Linked DNA regions of Homo sapiens: all the other regions are linked to region 1. Evidence: promoter capture Hi-C in 16 types of primary human blood cells and fetal thymus (Javierre and others, 2016). All regions are on one chromosome and are shown on one strand. The core of a region is centred on a gene start or on the middle of the fragment in contact, and the rest is flanking DNA. Distances in the headings are between cores, read along the strand shown.

Region 1 (2,830 bases), core at 99-2,598:
AGTTTTCTAAGGAGCCAGAGAGAAAGTGCAGATGAAAGGACCCATCGTCAGCGTTTGCAGGTCGCGGTAACCCCAGGCCAGATTGACATGGGCTCCGCACCCGGGCCGGTGATTCTGCCTCTTAACCGCTCTTGCAGGAGAGGTGACGTTAATCTCACAAACGTTTTCCTACCCTTCTAGGAGAAATAACGATAAGCCCCAATCTTAAGGAGCAGAGAGTTAGTTCCGGGCGTTTGCCACGGCTCCCTCACTTCAATTTACACTCGCACACGCGGGTACGTGGGTGTTCGGGGTAGGGCACTGATCTGGGGAAGGTCTCCCCCCCGCGACCCAACTCATCTTTGCACATTTGCAGTCCTCCCTCGGTGCACTCCTGGCGGGGATCTGGCCAGTGCAGCGCACTGGGACCGAGGGCAGAGCCCGCGGAGTGAGGCCAGGAGAGACTTCAGGCCTCTAAGGACACAGCTGAGGCTAAGGCTGAGTTGAACGCAGCCCCTCCCGCGGCTCGTCCCCTCTCCAGTGTCTCTCCCGTAAGGTGCCGCTCCCAACAGCAATGGGTCGAGATGTAGAGGAAACACTCTGTACGTTATTTTTCCGCCCACCCTTTAGCGCCTGAGGAGACAGACAGTGTAGACTTTAGGGTACAATTGCTTCCCCTCTGTCGCGGCGGGGTGGGGAGCGTGGGAAGGGGACAGCCGCGCAAGGGGCCAGCCTGCTCCAGGTTTGAGCGAGAGAGGGAGAAGGAGGTCCACGGAGAGACAAGAATCTCCCTCCTCCCACGCCCAAAAGGAATAAGCTGCGGGGCACACCGCCCGCCTCCAGATCCCCCATTCACGTTGAGCCGGGGCGCGCTCGGGGCGGTCGCCTGCAGTATCAGTATCAGCATCAGCATCAGCATCAGCATCTGCATGAGCATCAGCTCAGCTCAGCTCAGCTCAGCATCAGCTCAGCTGTCCTGAGGCAGCCGGCGGCTGTGAAGGAGCTCCAGGCTGCCCCCATCCCCACGCCCTTCTCGGCTCAGGGCGTGCATGAACCTGCGGATGGCCGGCGGGCGAGTGGCGCCTTCGCGATCGCGGCCGCCCCTCTAGGCGGAGGCACCGGGGACCGAACCCGTGACTTCGAGCTCCACTGCGGACGAATCCCGGGACCGCGCGCCTCGCGGAAGAGCGGCCGCCGTGCAGCGCGGAGGGATACGCCTCGGCCGCACCTCCCCTCGCCGCGCCCCCGCCCCCGCCGCCCTCCCCGCCCGGCTCTGCTGCCGCCGCGGCGGCCGCTGCTGCTGCTGCTTCTGCCGCCGCTGCCGCCGCCGCTGCCTGGATATAGTGCGGCAAGAGCGGAGCTTGCAGTCACTTTGCGAGGAGGAGCGCGCGGGCTGCGGGCGGCTGGGGCACCGCGGGAGCGGCGGCGGCGGCTCTAGCAGAGGCGGCCGGGGCAGCGAAAGGTTCTCTCTCCAGGGCTGGACTTAATAACTTTGAAACTGTCCACCGGTGTCACGTCCTGAACATGAGCCTCCTCCTCTCCTTCTACCTGCTGGGGTTGCTTGTCAGTAGCGGGCAAGGTAGGAGTGTGGCGCTTTATTGCATTTACTTTCCCTCCCCCTTCCACCCGGCCAAGAGAGGCAAAGAGGGAGGCGCAGGAAGAATGAAATGAAAGAACTAAAGTTACAGTTATTGCTGTTGTTGTTATTATTATTTTCGTTCTTTCTCCTAGCTGTCCCTAAAATTGTATCTGTTGTGTGGAGACCCTTAAATAAGAGAAGGGAAAATACAGAATTGGAGAGGGGAATCGGTGAGCAGGATATCCAGGGAAACCGCTTCTTCTTCTTCTTTTTTTTTCCTCTGGGATTATGGCTTTCTCTTATTTTTATTATCAGAAATTGGATGAGTGTGTTAACAGTGAAATATCTGAGGTTGCGGAAGGAAAGGGCACGATGGTGTTTTACAGAAGCAGCAAAAACTATCAGTGTTAAACTCATTTGCAAAATATCTGCTGTGTGCAAGACGTTCGATTCTTGGAGACTCTTTTTTTTTTCCACCCCTTTCCCAAAACCCTAATTCCTGACTATGAAGTGAATGATGATGGCTTATTTCTGTTGGAAACTAAGAGAGGGGCCGTGGATATTGTGTGTAAGAAAGCAAATGGATAAAACTAGGGATGTGTTGCAGTCATTCATTTTGACCCCAACCCCTTATTAATACAGAAAGGTGGAATCATTTTATAACATTACATTGTAATTACACCTGTAGAGGATTTTTGGGGTTGTGGGAGAACTGGTGGAAGCTTTTATCTCTTAAAAAAAAAAAATGAATAGCCTGGTAGAATAACCTGAGAGGGAATTTGTGGAAGCTATCACTGTTTGTCTCTAGAGAGATAGATATGAATTTATCTGGCTGTTTAGATAGTAAACACTCACATGAAATATATTTACAATAAATGGAAGCATTTTCAACTGTCCAGACAAGTTTGGACGTTTAATTAGGGACACAAAATGCTAAAACATGCATTGGTGAAAGTCTTTAAAGGAAAAATAAAATAGCACTAATTTTGAGATATGTAATGATTGCAAAGAATGTTATGTTGTTAGTGTAGTGTGAAATTGGTTTTTTAAAATAATATAATAAATTACAAGACAAGTTAAAATATCCCCAAGATATTCAGTTCTAAGCATTTTTAGCCTCTTCTGTATTGCTCGTTTGGTCCAGCAGGGGGTGGTAGAACTCCATTTTAAGCCCAGAAGTTGGTTTCTGCTCTTCCACAGAGTCCTTCTATCATTCTTCAGCAGGGCTTGACATTTTGGATGTGAAGCCTTCCTTTTTCTGCCCTTCTCCTC
Region 2 (2,700 bases), core at 174-2,673, 3.0 Mb after region 1:
TACCATTATATAGACTTACTCATATGTAGTTAATATTTTGAATTCTGCACTCTACAACTAACATTAACTTGGAAATGTTTGTATCTGTAAACCACACACTTGTTTTTAATGAGTCTAGTTTCAAAGCAAAACTGTTCTCTCTTTCAAATTATGATTTTAGGAAGTAGTGTAATTTAGTGGTGATTCTTAAAGGAGTTAAGGACAATTGAGCTTATACTTTAGTGTCATACCACTTACTAGCTTGGACACACATGTGCCACAGGTTTCCTATCTATAAGAGAAAGTAAGCTGGGTATATAAGCTAAATAACATATGGATCAGGAACTGTTCTGAAAAACTGAATATACAGTGATGAACAAGAAAGACAATGTGCTTAGACTAGAAACCTAAATTCTCATAAGTGGATAAAACAACAAATAAATGACCAAGATAGATTGTATGGTGTGGCATCTGTTATGAGGTAAATAAAAAAGACAGTTTGTTAAAAGTGACTCTGTGAGGAAGATGTTTTTAATTGGGTGGTTCTGGAGTGCCTCAATGAGTAGGTGACGATTGTAATGTTCCTAAATGGTTAGGAATCTAGGATCTAAAGAAGACCTTTCCTGGTAGATGAAACATAATAGAAAGGCCCTAGGGTATACATTTGCTTCATTGGTAGGAAGAGAAAGAAGGCTGTGGTCGTCCGAGGAAAGTAAGTCATTAAGTAAGTCATTAAGAAAATGGCGTGCAATAGAAATGGTGGAAACAAAGAATGGTTCAGATCACAGAAGGCCTTGGGGACTGTAATGGATGCCATTGGCTTACCCTTTTATATTCATTATCTACTCTGTCATGTGCTTTATGTATTCAGAAATGTAAACTGTATAAATTGCTGCAGTGGGTTGATTTATTTTTGGTTTTGCTGTTGGGTTTGGCAAATAGGTGACCCCAGGAGGATATCCAGAAATTAAGAAGAAAAAGAGGTGTTAGTACTACTTCACTATGACTACGGTCTGAATATTTGTATACCTACAAATTTGTATGTTGAAATCCTAACACCCAGTGTAATCATGGCAGAAGGTAGGGCTTTTGGAATGTAATAAGGTTATGATGGTATAGTCCTCATGAACGGGATTAGTGCCTTAGAAGCCTAAGAGACACCTCTTACCCCTTCCACCATGGGAGGGTCCAGCAAGAAGGCACTGTCTATGGACCAGAAAGTTGACCCTCATGAGACACTGCGTCTGCCACCTCCTTGATCTCGTACTTCTCAGGCTCTAGAACTCTGAGAAATAGATTTTGTGATGTATAGGCCACCCAGTTTATGCTGTTTTGTTATAGAAGCCTGAATGGACTGAGACACATATTGATTCACCCTGGAGCAACAGGATCCCTCTATAGAAAGCCCCAACTCCTATGAGGTAGACCTGTCCAGACAGCTACTCTTTCTGGACACTGTAACAAATCACAACCCTTCAATCATAGGCTTGGTGAAGTCTCCCTCCTGTTGCAGGCCTGAAGCCCTGTACTACTCCCTGCTGGCTCACCTAAACTCTGACTACATCTACAACAATAATCCCATTATTTAGTTATCTTTAATTTGCCAAGTTTCAATGGGCTCTCTATTTCCTGCCGGGACTCTATCTGATGAAAACATAATAGTAAGGATTTGGTTTAATTATAACATGCATATTACATGCAAAATGCCTCATGTCATTACTCACAATTAGAAAACTTAATGCATTCTCAATGACACTATGGGAAACAGTGCTACATTTGCCATCCTCTCTCTTGATCTCTTTACCAGTGACCAACAGTGGACAGACCAGGAGATTGTATTTGTAGCCTTCAAATAGCACAAACTTGAATATTTTCTAGTAAATTTCCTGATTCTTCTCTTGCGATCTCCTGACTTCTGAAAAGGCAGAATGACCTATCAGGAATACCACAGATACTAATGGGCAGGTTGCAGGTAGTCTTAAGAAAATTTCCAGGCTGGGCGTAGTGGCTCACACCTGTAATCCCAGCACTTTTGAGGTCCAGAGTTTGAGATCAGCCTGACCAACATGGTGAAACCCTGTCTCTACTGAAAATACAAAAATTAGCTGGGCATGGGGGTGCATGCCTGTAGTCCAAGCTGCTTGGGGATGGGGGGGCTGAAGCATGAGAATCACTTGAACCCAGAGGCAGAAGTTGCAGTGAGCCGAGATTGCACCACTACACTCCAGCCTGGGCGACAGAGTAAGACTCTGTCTAAAAAAAAAAAAAAAAAAATTTCCAATCCACACCCCTGCAAGAAATGGAAGATGATAAAGAGGGGAAAATGCATAATTAATTTTGCTCTCGTAAGAATCTCCTTAAAAATCTATATGAACAGGCAAAAAAGGCATTGATTGTCTGAAAAATTGGAAGGGATTTTGCAAAATGAACTGCTTGCATGCTTGAATTTTTTACACCTAAAGTATTTCTTGCTTTAAATCATTGTTAAGTCTTAGTTTCTGCTCCTAAAATAAGGAAATATTGAATATTTTAAGACAAAACATCCAATCTAAGTATATGCTGTTCATTTAAGAAAAACACAGTTTCTCTTGAGATGGCTCAGACCTGCTAGTTTTTTTTAAGCAAAATAGATAAATAGAAAGATATTCAATCCAAGTTTAGGTTTAGTGCAAACACAGATAAAACGCTTGAGTTATTCTCCAAAGCTCTAGCAATTTCTTC
Region 3 (2,740 bases), core at 211-2,710, 3.1 Mb after region 1:
GTTCTATGTGAATAGTGACCTCTGGGGTTACATTGCCTAGTGATTCTGTAAATATACCCAAAGTCAATTGTACAAAATCGAACACACGATCTCCACCTTCCCATCCACTTCCCAACCACCTCCCAAACTGTGGTGCTCATCCAATGTTCACTATTTTCGTGAATTTTAACTTCACACATTCATTAACACAAACCAGAAACCTAAGTGGCAAACTTCATATTTCCTTCTCCTGAAATGAGGCATCATGTTCTTTTGATTTTATCACCTAAATATTTCCCTAATTTCTCCAGTTTTCCCCATTTCTACCAATACTCTCTCCAGCTCAAGTGAACATCATCTCACCTAAAACTACATAATAGCTTTCTAACTTATATGACCATATCCTTTCTGGCTCCCTTTCTCGTCTTTTCTCCATTCTGTGGTCAGAGTGATGAAGCAATGCTGCCCATGTTTACAACCCATTGATATCTTCCTATGGCTAGTATCCTCCTGGGATGCTTTGTATTTTTGTGCTTTTAATTGATACCTTATGTTGTGCCGTCTTTCCTTTTTTGAGTAATGTCTTATCTTTAATTCTATAATCATTATGGTGAATGTCTGTATTAAGAATTTATGTCTTTGTTGGTAAATAGCAAGAGTGGCTCTGCTATTTCTACACTCCCAGGTTTCTTTCAGTTAGTCTGATATTTTCATTAAATTAAGTCATGTATTAAATCCCAAGCAGTCATATATTAGAAAGGAAAATGTCTCAAATGTGTCAATCTGATTCTTTTTATTAGATTAATGTTACAGCTGTTTTGACAGAATGTAAGAAAATACCATTATTTACAGAGGTATGACATTTAAAATAAGTTTGTTGTATTTATGCACTGATTATTTGTTTTTCAGTGGCCAAACCTTCATAGACGATAAGTTGAACTTTCAAAATATTTAATATATTGTTATCATACATTCTTAAGTACATTTAATAATTGACAAAATAGTAAAAAGGTTGCCTGTTTACCTGGCTCCCTATGCAAGAAAGCAAAGAAACAAGCTTGTAACCACATAATGAGTGCTATATGCTATTGCGTGTTTCAGTCTCACCTTATGGCAAATGAATAATTCCATAAAACTGTTTGACATTATTCTCCCCAAAATCTCTATAAAAGTAGTACCGCTTAATGGTATGCAAATCAGAACAATCTAAGGAATTTAAGATATGCAGGGGGTTTTCATAATAATAAACTGTATCACTTCTTAAGCCTTTCCTTTTGCCTATGACTATATGCCTTTTTCTTTATGATTATGCTATTTTACTTGAGATGAAATAATCTATATCATGAAATTCCCTAGGTCTCTTGTAAGTAGGATAATGGGAAATGCTTCCATACTTTTAAAATGTACGATGTTTATCAAGAATATTGATTCAAATTTATTTAATTTTTCAATGTTTACATTTAAAACATCAAAATCACTCATTTTCTACTTATTGCAGTAAGTTATAAATATTATATATTTCAGTACATGTTATTATAATTTATATTTTGAGTTTGTAAAAACAAAATATCTGATTAATTTTAAATAGTCATCAAGATCCTGTAGAAACTCTGTGTCTGTAGGTTTGTTGCTTATTATGTGTAGCTATAGTATGCCATTGACTAACCTACTTATCCCATTTCACAAGTCTTTTTGAATAAAATATATCTGAAAATAAACCAGTGTTTCTATTTCACTTTAGCATCATCATATAACCACCTCTATTCTATAATCTATAAAACAGAAACAGATTAATAATCAGGACCTGTTCTATATATCTATTCATAAGCCCTAAATCTTCATACAAGAGAACTTCTAATTACTTTTGTGTCAGAAAGTCGAAGTTGAAGCACAGGAAAAAATGTAGGAAGCTTTCTACTATGTTAATGGAAGATTGAGGAGAAGGAGTTGAAAGCCTCACTTTGGCTTCAGAACAGGCTATTTTTCTCTGATATAGCAGCCTTGATTTTGATGCAATGAACTTGATGCTGTAATTCAGTCCATATGTGATGCTGGGTCTCTTTCCCTTATTAATTAGAATCTGTAGAAAACAAGTATTGATACTATACAGTCCGACACTACATATCATATTTTATAATATGATTATATAATCTGTGCAAGTATGATTAGTAGAAATATGTTAAAAATTTTTTCTATTAGATGTATAAATATATTATTTTTATAAACCTCAATAATGTCCTTCACTTACTGTGCTAGTCTGTTTTCACACTGCTATAAAGAACTACCTGAGACTGGGTAATTTAAAAAGAAGAGAGGTTTAGTTGACTCACAGCTCCCCACGGCTGGGGAGGTCTCAGAAAACTTACAATCATGGCAGAAAGCGAAGGTGAAGCAAGGCACATCTTACATGGCTTCAGGAGAGAGAAAGAGAGAAAGAGGAGGCGGCCACACACTTTTAAACTATCAGATCTCATGAGAACTCACTCACTATCACGAGAACAGCAAGGGGGAAATCTGCTCCCATGATCCAGTCACCTCCCACCTCTCTTCCAATTTGACATGAGATTTGGAAGGGCACACAAATCCAGACCATATCACTTATATAACAATGTATGTATGTAAAATTTTTAAATATCAATAAGAACCTTTGAACACTATTTTATAGCATATATGTAATATATAACATGTTTATATATGTACATATACATGTATATGTATAAAATCTTGAAAGAAAAATTCTTTCACCCAGGATTACAAATTA
Region 4 (2,700 bases), core at 66-2,565, 3.1 Mb after region 1:
TACTGAAAAATTCTCCTATCAAAGAAAGGTCCAGGACCTGATTTCTTCATTGCTGAGTTCTACAAAACACTTAAGGAAGAAATGATATCAGCTATTCTTAAACTATTTCCAAAATCTGAAAAGAACAGAATACTTTCAAATTCATTCTATGAGGCCAGCATACCCAATCCAGACAAAGGCATAGCTAAAAAAGAAAACCACAGGCCAATATATTTGATGAACATAGATGCAAAAGTGCTCGATAAAATGTTAGCAAACTGTTCAACAACATGTCAAAAAGATCGTTCTTCGTGATCAAAAGAGATTCATTTCAGGAATGCAAGGATGGTTCAACTTATGCAAATCAAGAAATGCGATACATCACCTCAGCAAAATCAGGGACAGAAACCATATGATCATTTCAATAGATGCTGAAAAAATATTTGATAAAATTTAACATCTTTCATGATAAAAACTTTCAAAACATACCTTAAAACAATGAAGGCCAATTATGACCAGACTTTAGACAAGTTTTTCCTGCCTCTAGGTCCCTGAACTCCCTTTTTTGAGCAGTTTACCTTAGAAAACCTCTAATTGTAAACTCTTTCTCTGTTCCTTTGAGATGTAAATCCTTTAAAAAGCCTCTTGCCTGTTTTATAACCCAGGACTGTCATTCCCAAGATCCTGGGAGCCATGTCTGAAACTTAATCATCAAGGAAGATAGACTCCTCTCTCAGTTTCTGCGTGAAGGTAGAAGCCTAACTACTGTGGGTACTTTACTCCAAGTTGTAAAATTGCATCCTTTCATGAAGATAGGAGAAAGTTTATTTTCATTTGGATAAAGACAATTAGCAAACACTGAAAGACTAAGACCCCCCCATCTTCACTTTTAGGACTTCTGTGGCCCTCTATTTCAACAGAGCTGAGTACTAAGACTTGGATTGTGCTCTCTCTTTCTGCTATTGCTCATAATAGTATTAGTATAAAATCAGTTTCTGTTTGCTGGTCTCATCTGATAAAATATTTTTCTTTAACAGAGTACACATTGCAGCCAAAATATAATTAATATAAATAATCTTTGCATATGTGGGAGAAATATGCCAGAAGAAGAAATAATTTAAATCAATCTTGACTTTTTCCCAGAAAAAAATTATACATGTATATGTATATATGTGTATATATGTGTGTGTGCATGCATGTGTGCACACATACATTATATATATTAACATATATACACACACACGTGTGTATGTGTGTGTATATAAAGAATTTCTTGATGTTATTCTTTTAAAGGAAAATATACCACAAAGCATAATATAAATCCTGATTTACTAAATTTTATAATTAAATATAGTTATTATTTTTTATATTGAGAAACTCCATTAATTTAATTATAACATAACAAACCAGTAAAATAATACAAGTATTTGCCAATAGTATTATCTGCACTTATTTGATACTTGGGTTTGCTTTAAAGCATTTGACTAAAAATAACTATTAAAATTAGAAATAAGGTTAATTTAAAAATTGATATGAATATGCCATTTTCTACTTTACCACGTATCTATTTTGCCTATCATGTCATAAAATTTATATGTAAAAATTTCCACTGGCACCATACATTATTTAGGTCATTGATAAGAAAAAAAGACAATGCCAAGCACTATGTTCCATGCAGACTATTTGCCGCACACTGAATTATGTACTCCATCCCTCAAAGAGATGTTGGAGTCCTAATCCCGAGAACCTCAGATTGTATTTGAAGATACCATTTTTACAGATGTAATCAAATTTAAATGAAATCATTAGGGTGTGTCGTAATACAATGTAATTGGAATGACTGGTATAAAAAGGGGAAATTTGGGCACTGAGATAGACACACCCAGAGGCAGGATAATATGAAAAGACACAGAGAGAAGATGGCCATGAACAAGTCAAGGATAGAGGACTGGAACGGGTCTTGTCCTCACATTCTCAGGAGAAACCAATCCTGATGAAACCTTGATTTTGAACTTCAAGACTCCAAAACTGTGAGACAATAAGTTTCTGTTAAGTGGCTTGATTTGTGGTGCTTTGTTAAGGCAGCCCAAGTAAACCAATACATGATTCTTGTCAAATAAAACAAGTTTAAATATGATTATATCATATTAAAAATTAAGTTGGCAATCAAAAGGACTAATTATAAGGAAAAAATAATTTATTGGGAAATTACTCTCCTTTTAGTTATTTCCTGTTAGTTAAAGGAAAGTTAATAAAATAATGAATTTTTATTTTTTGAAATTGATATAAATGGTGGTTATTGATATAAATGGTGCTTATTCATAGACATGAAAAGCATCCATCCCCACATACCATAATTTACATATTAAAATCTAGAAAGCACTAGATTATATGTTGCCATGTTGAAGGAGCTTCTTTCAATTTTCTTCATTTTTAAACATATTTCCCCATTTATTGAATTTAGCATTATAGAAAATAATTTTCAAACTTGTTAGCATCAAATCCTTGGTGATTATTTTGTGAAAATCATAAAGTACATGGAGTCTGTATGAAATCTCATTGAGAGATTAAAAAAATATTGAAATGCTTAGGCGCTGTTTTACCACCTTTTCTTTCTCTTCTTACTTTTATTACTCATCTTCAATATAAAACCCCTTGGGCTTTTAAAAACTCTTTGATGTATATATTCATCCTTGAACCCACCCCAGCAGCCAATAATCT

What was found. The method cuts DNA at HindIII sites, captures the fragments that hold promoters and counts their contacts. A CHiCAGO score of 5 or more calls a contact.
Region 2: a fragment that was not itself captured here is called in contact with the fragment with the promoter of NCAM2 in region 1 in 2 of 17 cell types (total B cells and naive B cells); the score reaches 7.1 in total B cells.
Region 3: a fragment that was not itself captured here is called in contact with the fragment with the promoter of NCAM2 in region 1 in 2 of 17 cell types (total B cells and naive B cells); the score reaches 9.6 in total B cells.
Region 4: a fragment that was not itself captured here is called in contact with the fragment with the promoter of NCAM2 in region 1 in 2 of 17 cell types (total B cells and naive B cells); the score reaches 16.8 in total B cells.

Annotation. Positions count from the first base shown.
Region 1 is chr21:20,997,061-20,999,890 of GRCh38, forward strand. It overlaps NCAM2 (neural cell adhesion molecule 2), which reads left to right and starts at 1,349. Exons shown (of 18, transcript NM_004540.5): 1 at 1,349-1,558. The coding sequence starts at 1,504. The HindIII fragment of the contact is 4,236 bases long and covers 1-2,278 here.
Region 2 is chr21:24,040,103-24,042,802 of GRCh38, forward strand. No RefSeq gene overlaps it. Among named protein-coding and RNA genes, the nearest start is that of LINC01689, 280 kb to the right of the region's middle. The HindIII fragment of the contact is 4,421 bases long and covers 1-2,700 here.
Region 3 is chr21:24,058,210-24,060,949 of GRCh38, forward strand. No RefSeq gene overlaps it. Among named protein-coding and RNA genes, the nearest start is that of LINC01689, 260 kb to the right of the region's middle. The HindIII fragment of the contact is 853 bases long and covers 1,035-1,887 here.
Region 4 is chr21:24,079,701-24,082,400 of GRCh38, forward strand. No RefSeq gene overlaps it. Among named protein-coding and RNA genes, the nearest start is that of LINC01689, 240 kb to the right of the region's middle. The HindIII fragment of the contact is 5,024 bases long and covers 1-2,700 here.